2 separate regions of the Homo sapiens genome follow, and region 2 is linked to region 1. The links are contacts of gene promoters, found by promoter capture Hi-C in blood cells and fetal thymus (Javierre and others, 2016). All regions are on one chromosome and are shown on one strand. The core of a region is centred on a gene start or on the middle of the fragment in contact, and the rest is flanking DNA. Distances in the headings are between cores, read along the strand shown.

Region 1 (7,477 bases), core at 1,344-3,843:
AGCCTGGGTGACAGAGAGAGACTCCGTCTCAAAAAAAAAAAAAAAGAAATTATACATACTACAGTAAGCACAGCACTTTACCTTGGAAAAGACAAAGGCTCGCAGGCTGAGTTAGTGTGAAGGGGTAGGAGGAGGGTGGTCTGAACCGGGTGAAGTCCTAACACCAGGTGTTGACAGGTGTGCTACATTGGGGCACTAAGCGCTGTGTGAGGGTGTACGTGTGCGAGTCTCATGTATTCCAACGGGCCCCAGCTCAGCTGGGGGCAGTTTTCTGCATTTATCTACTCTTTCTTGTGAAATTTCAACTATGCTCTAATTGTTCCCTAATACATCAATCACGCTGGAAAACAAATCCTGTATTCAAAACAAGCATTACAGCAGACCTTACTCTATTAAGAGTGGATCTCATCAGGATTCCAGGGAAACTGCTTCAGAAAACAGTCCGGCCGGGCATGGTGGCTCACGCCTGTAATCCCAGCACTTTGAGAGGCCGAGGCGGGCGGATCACCTGAGGTCAGGAGTTCAAGACCAGCCTGGCAAACATGGTAAAACCCAGTCTCTACTAAACATACATATATATATATATATATAAAAAGTTAGCCGGGCGTGGTGGTGGATGCCTGTAATCCCAGCTACTCAGGAGGCTAAGGCAGGAGAACTGCTTGAACCCAGGAGACAGAGGTTGCAGTGAGCCGACACAGTGCCACTGCACTCCAGCCTCAGCGACAGAGTGAGGCTGTCTCAAAAAAAAAAAAAAAAAAAAAAAAAAAAAAAGAAAAGGAAGAGAAAACAGGCCAGCCCTGAGAACTACAATATCTTTATTTCCTTCCTCACTGGTTTTATTTCTGATCTCTCATGATGGTGCTTGGGATGAACCATTTGGGAAGAAGTGGCAGAGAAAGAGGAACAATGGAAGGAAGAAGACAGGAAAAGAGAAGGAGCGGAAGTGTCACCAAACGGTAAACACCCACAGTCTGCTCTGAAAGAGAGCAGGGGGCAGGGGCCTGAAGGCTGGGACCCTGGCTCCCGGACAGGTCGGAATGGGCATCACCCAATTCATTACAAGCTCCCGGACAGGTTGGATCCCGCGTCACCCAATTCATTACAAGCAAGTTGAAATGTGATCATGTGATTTTAGAATCTCTGAGACTTTTGAACTCAGCAGATTCAGAATTCAGACAAAAAGCTCCTCCTCAAATGCCCTGAGCTGGGGCCAGTGCAGCCCCCACCAATGGGGAATGGACAGGCTGGGGGAGGAATGGTCAGAAAGAGCGACCCAGCTCAGGTGGCCCCCACCTGGCCTTCGTGTGACCCATTTCTGCAGCCTCCTCTGCCAACTCATTGCTTCCCTGGCCTCAGGATGGGACTGCCAACCACATGGCCAGGGACGAAGGCCAGGAGAGAAGCAGACGCTCTGGGGCTGTCAGCCCCCTCCCTGGCCAGCACGCCACAGCATTCGAGGGCTGTAGGCCTCTTGGTGTGTACACGTCCCACTCAACATGGTGACCACAGCACAGCAGAAATACCTCAGAAGGTGGGACGGCAGAAGTTCCTGTCACCCAAGGTCCACCCTGGCATGGTTGGTGAGAACTGCACTCTTTTGGGGCAGAAGTGGTTCTCGGTGGCTGGGGTTCTGTGGGTCCCTCGAGGAGTTCAAGGGACTGTGAGAATTGTCCAGACTTGGCTGAAGATTCCCGAAAGCCTTCAAACTCCCCCCAAGTGCTGCTGTGTTCCCCAGGGTCAGGACATCGGGCAGTGCAGGTGGAACCGCCCTCACGGGGCATGGAGATGCTGGCTTTCCCATCGGACAGGAGAAGGTCGGGGCAGGTCCGTCTCCATTCCAAACTGTCATCACTCAGCCTCTCAGGTGCCACTCGGAGGGAAGCGCTGGCTGCTTCCTCCTGGAGGTCACTCAAAGGCTCTCCCCCCAGCTCCCGCCGGCCTTGCATCTTGGAGCCCCCAGGCCAGCAGAGGCCCGATGGGCAGCTGCTCAGGAGACATGCACGCCGGGGTGCTGGCCGCCCAGGACTGCCCAACCTTCCCCTGCCCTGGAGAGGGCCAGGGGACGCTGCAGGAGTGCCCCGGGCTGCCCAGTGGCTGACGGTGGAAAGTGCCCACGTGCTGCTGTGGAACTGACACAAACCACAGGAATGGCCCGGTCGCCCGGGAGTCCTGGCTTCCTCCCACGCAGGCGGGCGCGGAGTCCGACACAGAGGCGCGTACCAGACCCACGGCAGGTGTGAGAGGGGCGGCCCAAGGTGGGGCTCCTGCTCTGGAGAGAGCCGCGAGGGGGCCTGGGAGGCCCACGCTGGCCAGAGGAGCGAGAGCCGGGCGCCCGCGGGAGTCCCAAGTGGGAAGGAGTGGGTGCGGCGCCCCGGGGCCTCCCGAGAGTCCCTCTCGCACGCGGCCCGCAGAGCAGCCCTGGAACGCCTGGGCCTGGACAGGGCCCGAGGTGGCCGGCTAAGCGCCTGGCCCACGGCTCCCGAGAGTCCCCGCACCCACCTTGGTCGCCGCCTCGGCGGGGCCGCGCGGGACCAGGGCGAGAGAAACCTGCAACCAGCCGTTCCCTCCTGCCTGCGCCGCCCCGTTGCCTGGCAACGGCGTGCGCCAGCTCCGCTTCCGGCGTCCGTCGCCGTGGCGTCAGCACGCATCCGGGGCGAGGCCAGCGCCGGCCCCCGCCGTTCAGGACCCGCCCCGGACCCGCCCTCCCTGCCCCGGGCCGCCTCCGCTGCGGGTGGGATCGGGCTTCCACACTGGCCGAGCCCTGGGCGCCGGGCCGCTCGAGCTTTCTGTCCGTGCTCAGTTCGCCGCCCGAGTGGTTCTTTCTTTTTTTTTTTTTTCTTTTTTTTTTGAGACGGAGTCTCGCTCTGTCGCCCAGGCTGGAGAGCAGTGGCGCGATCTCGACTCACTGCAAGCTCCGCCTCCCGGGTTCACGCCATTCTCCTGCCTCAGCCTCCCGAGTAGCTGGGACTACAGGCGCCCGCCACCACGCCCGGCTGATTTTTTTGTATTTTAATAGAGACTGGGTTTCACCGTGTTAGCCAGGATGGTCTCGATTTCCTGACCTCGTGATCCGCCCGCCTCGGCCTCCCAAAGTGCTGGGATTACAGGCTTGAGCCACTGGGCCTGGCCCTAGAGTGGTTCTTTCTTCCTCACGACGAGCTCCCCAGGTCCGTCCCAGCGCACCCGTCACCCGCAGCCCCTTCTCCCGGCGCCCCGCAGCCTAACTTGCCGCGCCGCCGACCCCTCTGTGGGTGCAGCTGAGCGACGGCCCCTCAGGACCCCACCTGTCCCTGGCGAGAGCCAAGTCCGTCTTGCTGACTCCTGAATCCCAAAACCTCGCCCGCCCCTAACTCGTCCCCATTCCTGGGGGAAGGAGCTGCGGGGAGGCTCCACCCCTCCCTCGCAGGCCGCATGGAGTGCTCCCCTCCTTTGTCACCAGCCAGACCCGGGCAGAGCAGGGCTGACGGACAGCCCCTCTCCAGCCACTGGACGACCAAGGAGCTAGGCTGGCCTCTGGCAGCTCCCCTCCGGGCTTCCAGGCCTTCTGCCATCTGCCCTCACCCCCAGACTCAAGGAGTCAACCTTGACTCCATCTCCTCCCTGGCCTTCCCAGACTGGCCCCCATCACTGCCTCCTCTGGGTAAGGGGAGGGCCTGGCCCTGGTGAAGCCCTGAACCATGCCACCTACTGTCCACCCCCTATCTACCTCAGGCTCGCATTTCTCCCACCCTGGGGCCTGGGGCCCTGCCTGGACTCTGTCCTTGCTTGAATCACCCCTTCCCTCCCTGGTCCTTCTCAGCCAAGCTACAGAACAATTTAATTTTACAAATGACAAGATGAGATCATTCTCTGCACCTTAGACCCAGCCTCCTGTCCCCGCTCCTTCCTGAGGGGCAGAGCAGCCGGGCCATGCAGTATGGAAGCTCTTCGGTCAGACTGCCCAGGACTGGATCTTGGCTTGGCCACCCCAGCACCGCAGTGACCCTAAGGATGGTGATCAGGAGCTGGCTGGGTTTGTAGACCAGGCCTGGGCCTGTCTTGCCAGCTTAAGGGCAGTGTCCGTTCCCACTGCTGCCCCTCATCCACTGCACGTCCTTGCCGTCCTTGAGGCCCAGGGAGCTGGGAGGGGGGCAGGAGGAGTGTTGTCCTTGTGTACAGGTGGGGAAACTGAGGCCCCACCCCAAAGGCCTGCGTGAGAAGCAGAGCTGGGACAGGAGCTGCTCTCCTCGTTCTCTGCAATTCCCCACCCCCGTCTGGGCCTCAGCTTCCACGTGAAGAGCGTGGGGAGCACAGTACTCCCAGGGTGGTTGGAGGATAGAAATGACCCATATGGGTTGAAGAGCTGGTGTGGCAGTTGAACAGCCCCACAGAGATGTCCACATCCTAACCCCTGGAACCTGTGGCTATGTGACCTTACAGGGTCAAAGACACTTTATAGATGGGCTTAAATTAAGGCTCTTGAGAGGAGGAGTGGAGCCTGGATGAGGCATGTAATCACAAAGGTCCTGAGAAGGAAGCAGGAAGGTCAGAGTCAGAGAGGAGACGCAAAGATGGAAGCAGAGCCGGAGTGATACGAGACTGCAGATGCCTCTGGAGGCTGAAGGGACCAGAAAACAGATCTCCCCTGAAGCCTCCAGAAGGCACACCATCCTGCCCACACCTAGAACTGGAGTTGATAAATGCGCACATGCTGTTTTCAACCACTGTGTCGGGGGTATTTTGTTATGGCAGCAGCAGGGAACTAATATGCCTGAGTGACCCCTTGTGACCCACTGAGAAGTGCTGCGTCGGGGAAGCCAAGGTGCAGAGGAAATGGCAGCGGCAACCTTGACATCAGGTGCCCAACCCTGGTTGCAGGAGGAGGTGGGGGCAGCCCAGGTGGCTGCTAGGCCGCTGCTGGCTTCTTGGGCCAGCTTCTGGGCAGACCATCCTGCTTCATGGCACAGCCTGAAAGGCACGAGCTGAGGATAAGGCTTCCAGGTTGGCGATTGGAGCAGGCACTGCTCAAATTGAACTGGCCCAGCTGCTAGGGGAGACTGGGCCGGAGAGGGTGGGTTCCCATTAAAGCCTGGGTGTGGGGGACATTAGCCATGACTCCCGAGGGGCATGGAGGGGGCAGGTGGAGTGTGGTCGGGACGAGGAGCCCATGTGGCCCTCCCAGGACCTCTCCAGCCACCTCGGTCCACCCTGAGCCCCAGCCCTGCTCAATGGCTGTGTGGGGAGCACCTTCCCTTCTGCAGAGGAGCCAAGCTTCCCTACCCTAGTCTCAGGAGGAAGGGGCCAGCCTGGGTTCTGGGGCAAGTGCCACCTATGCACAGAGCCCCACAGTCATCTTGGGATCTCCCAGCATCACCTGATGAGCAAGGACTGGCTGGGGAGGGGTCCCCAGAAGCACCCAGGCATCCTGGTCCTCTGGGATCCTCAGCCCCAAGTCCCTAGGGCAAGTTGGGGCGTGTGCCTGTCCTCACCTCTGGCAGCAGGAGTGCCAGGGCTTGCAGGCGGCAGCATGGGAACCTGCTGCTGCTCGGATCCCAGGCTAGCCCACACGGACTGCTGAGCCAGAGAGCCCGATGAAGACATGGGTTGAAGAAACCCATCCGAGTGGAACGATGGCAGCACCCTGACATGCCCCACCACTGCCACATTTCCTGATCCCAGCTGTGTGGGTGCAGAGGAAGTGGACCTGGGGACAATACCCAGGCCTGAAACGGGCACCCAGCTTTGGGGGAGAGTGAGGCGGTTAGAGGTCAGGAGTCAGTGTGGTCAGGCAAGAGTGGGAGGCTGGGTGGACAAGTGTCCCCCACCTGGTCAGGGGGTCCTCCCCCATCATCTCCGTATAAAAGACTGAGGAGGGGCAGGCAGTGGCTGAGACAGTCCTAGATGCTCCCACCTCACCTCACACCCCTCCATCTGGGCACGAGGCTGGGCTGGATGCAAGGCTGTGGCTGGGGCGGGGCAGGGACCACAGCAGAGCTATTTTTGCTTATGTTGCTGCAGCTGCCGCAGCAAGAATCAATCATTGATGCTGTGGGCATCCCTGCCTGCAGAGGGTGGAGGCAAGCAGCGCCAGTCAGGCCATGGGGGCAGGGCAGCGGCTCTGCTGATGATCAGGGCCTGGGGAGCCTCGGCTCCTCACCCAGGCCCCGGCACCCAGCCTCAGGAAGGCTGTGGGCAACCAGTGGGCTGGGCCAGTGTCCCCATCTCAGTGGTCCAGGGAAGAGGTGGAGGCTGTGTGCACAGGAGAGAGCATGCGATGCCCTCTCCCTGGGGTGACACCTACAGCAGGTGTGGGGCCTTGTATGTGCCAGGGGCGGCTGTGAGTTGGGCTTGTGTCCAGCGATGCTGTGGGTGGGGGCATGAATTCCTGAGCCCAGGCATGCTTCTGTGGTCCTCCCTAGCTGGGCATCTGTCCTCAGAGGGGCACATGGGGAGGAAACTGGAGCTGGGCGTGACGACAGGAGCGCAGGCTTCAGCTGGCGGGCAGGGCCCGGGATGGGGGCTGGCAGCCCCTCTCATCTTCTCCCCTGCTCCCACAGCTGTGACCCTGGACCCCTGTTTCAGCTGCTGAGGCCCTGGTGGGCGGGAGGAGGGATTCTGGCTGGCCCCTGGGGAGCCAGTCCTCAACTGCACATAGCCGCAGCCTGCCTGTTTGTGGGGGTACACTGCCCAAGTTGCAGGCCCTCCCAGAGGCATCTGGAGTGAGATAGAGCTCTCAGGACCCCAGGTTCCTTGAGGTGGGGAAGCTCTCTGGACAGACACCCCAAGGTGTCTTACTCATGACACTGTCAGCTTAACCCTCAAGCTAGGAGAAGACCCCCAGAAGGAGGGTGGGAGGGGCAGTCCCCAGCTCCCCGACAGTCACAACCAGACTGTGGCCCCAGCACTCAGGGCAGCGCAGAGCCAGAGGCCACTGCAGAGAGACACCAGCCCTCTGTCTCAGAGTGGGCAGGAGAAGGGAGGGACGGCCTCCGGGTGGAGCAGGCCCTGCCCAGACCCCATCCTGAATTCTGGGGCCACAGGGGAGCATGGCGCAGCTGCGTGTGTGTGTCTGTGCCCACCTTGGAAGTGGGCAGCCCCGTGCAGGGCAGAGGCAAAGTTCCTGGACCTGGGCAGCTGTGGTTGGTTCTGGGACCATTTCTTAGCCAGGGGAGGACAGGCCCAGTGGACACAGCTAGGGGAAGATCTCAGCCACCCCAGGCTGAGGGGCAGGACCAGGGCAAAGTCCTCCCAAGTGTGGGGTCCCCACACTCCCGTGACGCCACGCTGAACTTGCGCTCTCACTCGGCCCCCACCAAGATGGCCTGGAGGGTTCTCTCATCTTGCTGAAGGAAAACAGAGGCAGGGGCAGCAGGTAGTAGCCCAGGGACAGGGACATGTCGGGGGCAACCTCGGCTTCCCCACCCAGGGCTCCATCCTCACCCATCCCGCAAAGCCAAGGGGAGTCCCCGTAGCCCTGCGCAGATCACGCCAGACA
Region 2 (3,854 bases), core at 1,194-3,693, 230 kb after region 1:
CTCACGCGTATGGTGTGGCTTACCTCAGCACTTTGGGAGGCTGAGGCCGGAGGATCACCTGAGGTCAGGAGTTCGAGACCAGCCTGGCCAACATGGTGAAACTCTGTCTCTACTAAGAATACAAAAATTAGCTGGGCGTGCTAGCGCACGCCTGTAACTCCAGCTACTTGGGAGGCTGAGACAGGAAAATTGCTTGAACACAGGAGGTGGAAGTTGCAGTGAGCCAAGATCGCACCACTGCACTCCAGCCTGGGTGACAGAGCGAGACTCCGTCTCAAAAAAAAAAAAAAAAGAAAGCTCTAAAGGTAAAGGCTAGGGAACCCGGCAAAACACAGGGAGAAAGTGATTAAGAGAGATGTTGCGAGGAAACGGGACTGGCAATGGCTACCCCAAACACGACAGGGCCGTGGAGTCAACAAGGCAGCCAGAACTGCTTGCCACTTGGTTTGCAGAGTTTGCCAGTAGTATTGTGGGTGAGCCGCGAAGACAGCCCCTCACCGCCACCGGCAGCCAGCTGGAGAGCCCTGCAGAGGACGGGCCAGGCGTGGGCCAGTGCAGGCCATCAGCAGGACGCCAAAGGCTGCTGGGCTGCATCTGTGTTAAACCAGAGCCGTGTGGACAGATCCCTGTTTTCCCCCACTCCTGCGACGCCTGGTCCTGAAGTAGGAAATGGCAGGGGAGGGGGTAGGAGACTGCGGGTGCCACCAGCTGGGCTGCCTGGCCTGGGAATGCCACTTCTGGCTTGTGACCTGGAACAAGTCATTTATTTGTGAAAGAGGGCAGAGCCCACCTCCTGTGCTGTAGCTGCGATAAAAGAGTGTGTCCACAGTGGGGACAGTGGCCCACTCAGCTCAACGTGAACTCTGTGGGTATGGGAGGAAGCAGCAGCAGAAAGTAGGTAGAGGCCAGGAGGAAATGGGCGCAAGGGAGTCCCTCAAGGATGGTGTGCAGGGCAGGAGTGGGAGGCCAGCCACGCAGCGCTCTGGGACCCACCTCTCCGCTGAACCTGCCCATGGCTATGTTCACTTCTGCTTTGGTGAGAGGGCCACCAGACAATGAGAAAACCCTGCCCTTTTCAGTTTACTTCTAGGAAAGAAGATGAACTCAGCGGGTGAAAAGCAAAGACAGAGTATCCCACATTCATAGCTAGCCCTGCAGATGATTCCCAACCTGGATGGGGTGCGTTACCCCACTCCTGCCCATGCTGAAGCCATGGGAGCCGATCACTGGCACGCGGCGCTTCTCCCTGGTGCTGCCCCCCCTGCCCAGGGCTCTCCGTCTCCAATGAGTCTGGGCCTCTGCCCCGACTGAAGAAAGGCTCGAGAGAAAGGACTCGAGATGTAACATGTGGTTTCTATTTTAGATGGACAATTTCAGACATTGTTTGGACTAAGCTTGCTTTGGGTCTATGGAGCCAGTTCCACATGTGTCTGGATGAAGTCATCTTTCTCACGGGGCAGGGCAAACAGGCTCCACACTGTCCACTCCCATCCACCAGGTGAGTAGCCCCTAGGGTGAGAACGCCCCTCCCCACCTTAGGAGTAAGGACGGGATCCAGCCAGCTGCAGCAAACCCACCCACAAATGGGAGACTACACAAACACTCCACTTCCTGCCTGAGAGGGTCTACAACCAAACGGCACGCATGACTGTGGTGAAGCTGCGGTGTGCACCTGTGTCACCAACCAGGGGCTCCTCGGACGGGGGGAGGGGGGGCTCAAAGACCAGAGGAGGAGGAGGTGGGGGTGCTCAAAGATCAGAACAGGAAGTGGCTGAAGACAGGGACTAGAGCCGGATACAGAGCAGGTCATCTGTGAGGTTCAGCTTTCCCTTAGAGAGGATTACTAACCACTAAAGTTGGGCCAAGCATCTATTGCCACCATGTCCCGTTAGGCAATGCCAGATGGCACTGCATCAGGGGCCACACGTGTGTGTTCTGGGCCCACATGGGTGACCCACCCGTCCCCCATCACGGCTTGCTGGGGCTATGGGATCTCAGCAGCTCCAGGGACTGAAGTACTTACTCCACGAGGCCACACAGGGTACAGGCCACGGAGCCGCAGCCCCAGCAGGTGCGCACACACTGCCCGCACAGGGCTCGCTCACACTGACCGCAGACCGCCTTCCCATCCACGGCTCGCACGCATGAGGAACAGGCAATGGACGCTACCCCAGATGGGTCTGTGAGGAAGAAACGCCAAGCCGTCAGGCTGCAAGGAGACTGGAGTTTCCGGGACTGCCGGGCTACCTGCCTCCATGCATACCTGAGGGCAGAGGGCTCTGACCTGCCTACCCCATCCCCACCTACACTGGATCCTTCTGACAACCCGTGAGCCTGGTACAGTGCACAGGACCCCCGTTTTACTACAGAGATCCAAGGTGAGATATGCCTGTAGTTGACTCCAAGTTCAGTGCTCTTTCCCTTACCAGGTCCCTCTGCTACCTGGAGGCTAGTGCTGGAAGGACCATTCTTCCCCTGTTGCTTGTCAGAACTCCATGTGTCCCATCTGGGTCTCAGTGTGGCCCACTGCCTTACTGGTTAACAAAGAGGTGCCTGGGCTCCTCCTAGACACACCAACCAGACTTGAGGTAGAGTCGGGGATTGCATTTCTAACCAGCAACACAGGTGATGCTCTGAGACCCCACACTGCATAGGGATGGGACTGGCATGTTTCCAGCCTTGTGGGACTATCTGAGGGGGCTGCAGGCGGAAAGCAGACGGGATACCCGGGGAGTCTCTGCTGCTTTTTTGGCCCAGTACTTAGAAGCTGTTTAACAACTTCCAGTCTTGAATGTGAGACCTCCTGATAACAGGAGCCTTCTGAGCCAGAAGGCCAAGCTCTGGGTCAGAGTCCTGCTTACCCAGGGAGGAAAAGCCTGACCTTGCAAATCAAGAAAAATGCTCGTGCCACCACCTGCCCTCAGTGCCACAGCCACAAAGGGCTGCTGGTGCCACTCACCAGCTTCGGAGGCCTGCCCAAGGCTCCTGATCAGGCGGCCGTCTGGTCCAATCAGCATCTGCCCACGTGCAGCCCTCGGGGCCCCTGTAGGGCCAGGCTTTGGGGACTCTGGCAGGTGAACGACGGCACAGCCTTCATCCCACACGTGGTCCAGGTAGGCCTGGGCCCCGAGGAACAGGAGTCGCTTGGTCTTCTCTGGGGGAAGATAAATCATTCTCACGTCCTTCACTGTGTACCAACGAAGCCCCTGCATGGCCATTGAGTCTTTCTAGCCTCACATGAACCCCATCGTCCTCCTGTGTGCCCTCTGTCTCCCAGTAACCCCAGCCTGTGTTGTGCCCTGGCGAGCTGGGTCCTGCTCTGCCTCTATGCTGAGAATGCTTGTGCGTCCTTTCCTTACCTGGCTTAGCTGTCATCTCCTCCAGGAAGGCTCTGGCCCTGCAGCCCCACCTGTGTCTGATGCAAGGGTTCCCTCTCCTATCACTCGGCTCATTTTCTGCAATTCACGGCTGGCCTCGCCTCACTAAGCTTGTCCCCTTTCTCCCTTTTCTGCTTCCCCAGCACTCCCCACCTGGAAACCAGGCTCTGTGGAATGCACAGAGGGAGCTCTGCACTGTGGAGCACTAATTCACAAAACTCGTCCCCTGCCAAGGAAGCAGCCAGAGGCTTGGAGCTGGGCCTACAGCCTCTGGCCAGAGCACACCCCCTTCACCTGCTACAGAGTTGCTGGCAAGACAAGCATCCCAGAACCTTCCAGACCTCTTGTTCTAGAACACCCACCCATCCCTGGGAGCAGTGGTTTTCCATCAGGCCACAGTTCAGTCACCTGGGGAGCTTTGAAAAATCAGATGCCCAGGGCCAGACCCAGAAATGCTTTGTTTTTTGTTTTGCACCT

Evidence for each region. The method cuts DNA at HindIII sites, captures the fragments that hold promoters and counts their contacts. A CHiCAGO score of 5 or more calls a contact.
Region 2: a contact is called between a fragment that was not itself captured here and the fragment with the promoter of CLBA1 in region 1, in 1 of 17 cell types (neutrophils). The highest score is 5.2, in neutrophils.

The regions. Positions count from the first base shown.
Region 1 is chr14:104,980,904-104,988,380 of GRCh38, reverse strand. It overlaps CLBA1 (clathrin binding box of aftiphilin containing 1), which reads right to left and starts at 2,593. Exons shown (of 5, transcript NM_174891.4): 1 at 1,527-2,593. The coding sequence starts at 1,949. RefSeq lists a silencer at 2,335-2,804. The HindIII fragment of the contact is 10,527 bases long and covers 1-5,255 here.
Region 2 is chr14:104,754,930-104,758,783 of GRCh38, reverse strand. SIVA1 (SIVA1 apoptosis inducing factor) reads right to left here. Exons shown (of 4, transcript NM_006427.4): 2 at 2,960-3,154; 3 at 2,024-2,180. It overlaps LOC107987209 (a long non-coding RNA gene), which reads left to right. Exons shown (of 3, transcript XR_001750915.3): 2 at 1,364-2,378. Among named protein-coding and RNA genes, the nearest start is that of SIVA1, 3.7 kb to the right of the region's middle. The HindIII fragment of the contact is 2,093 bases long and covers 1,397-3,489 here.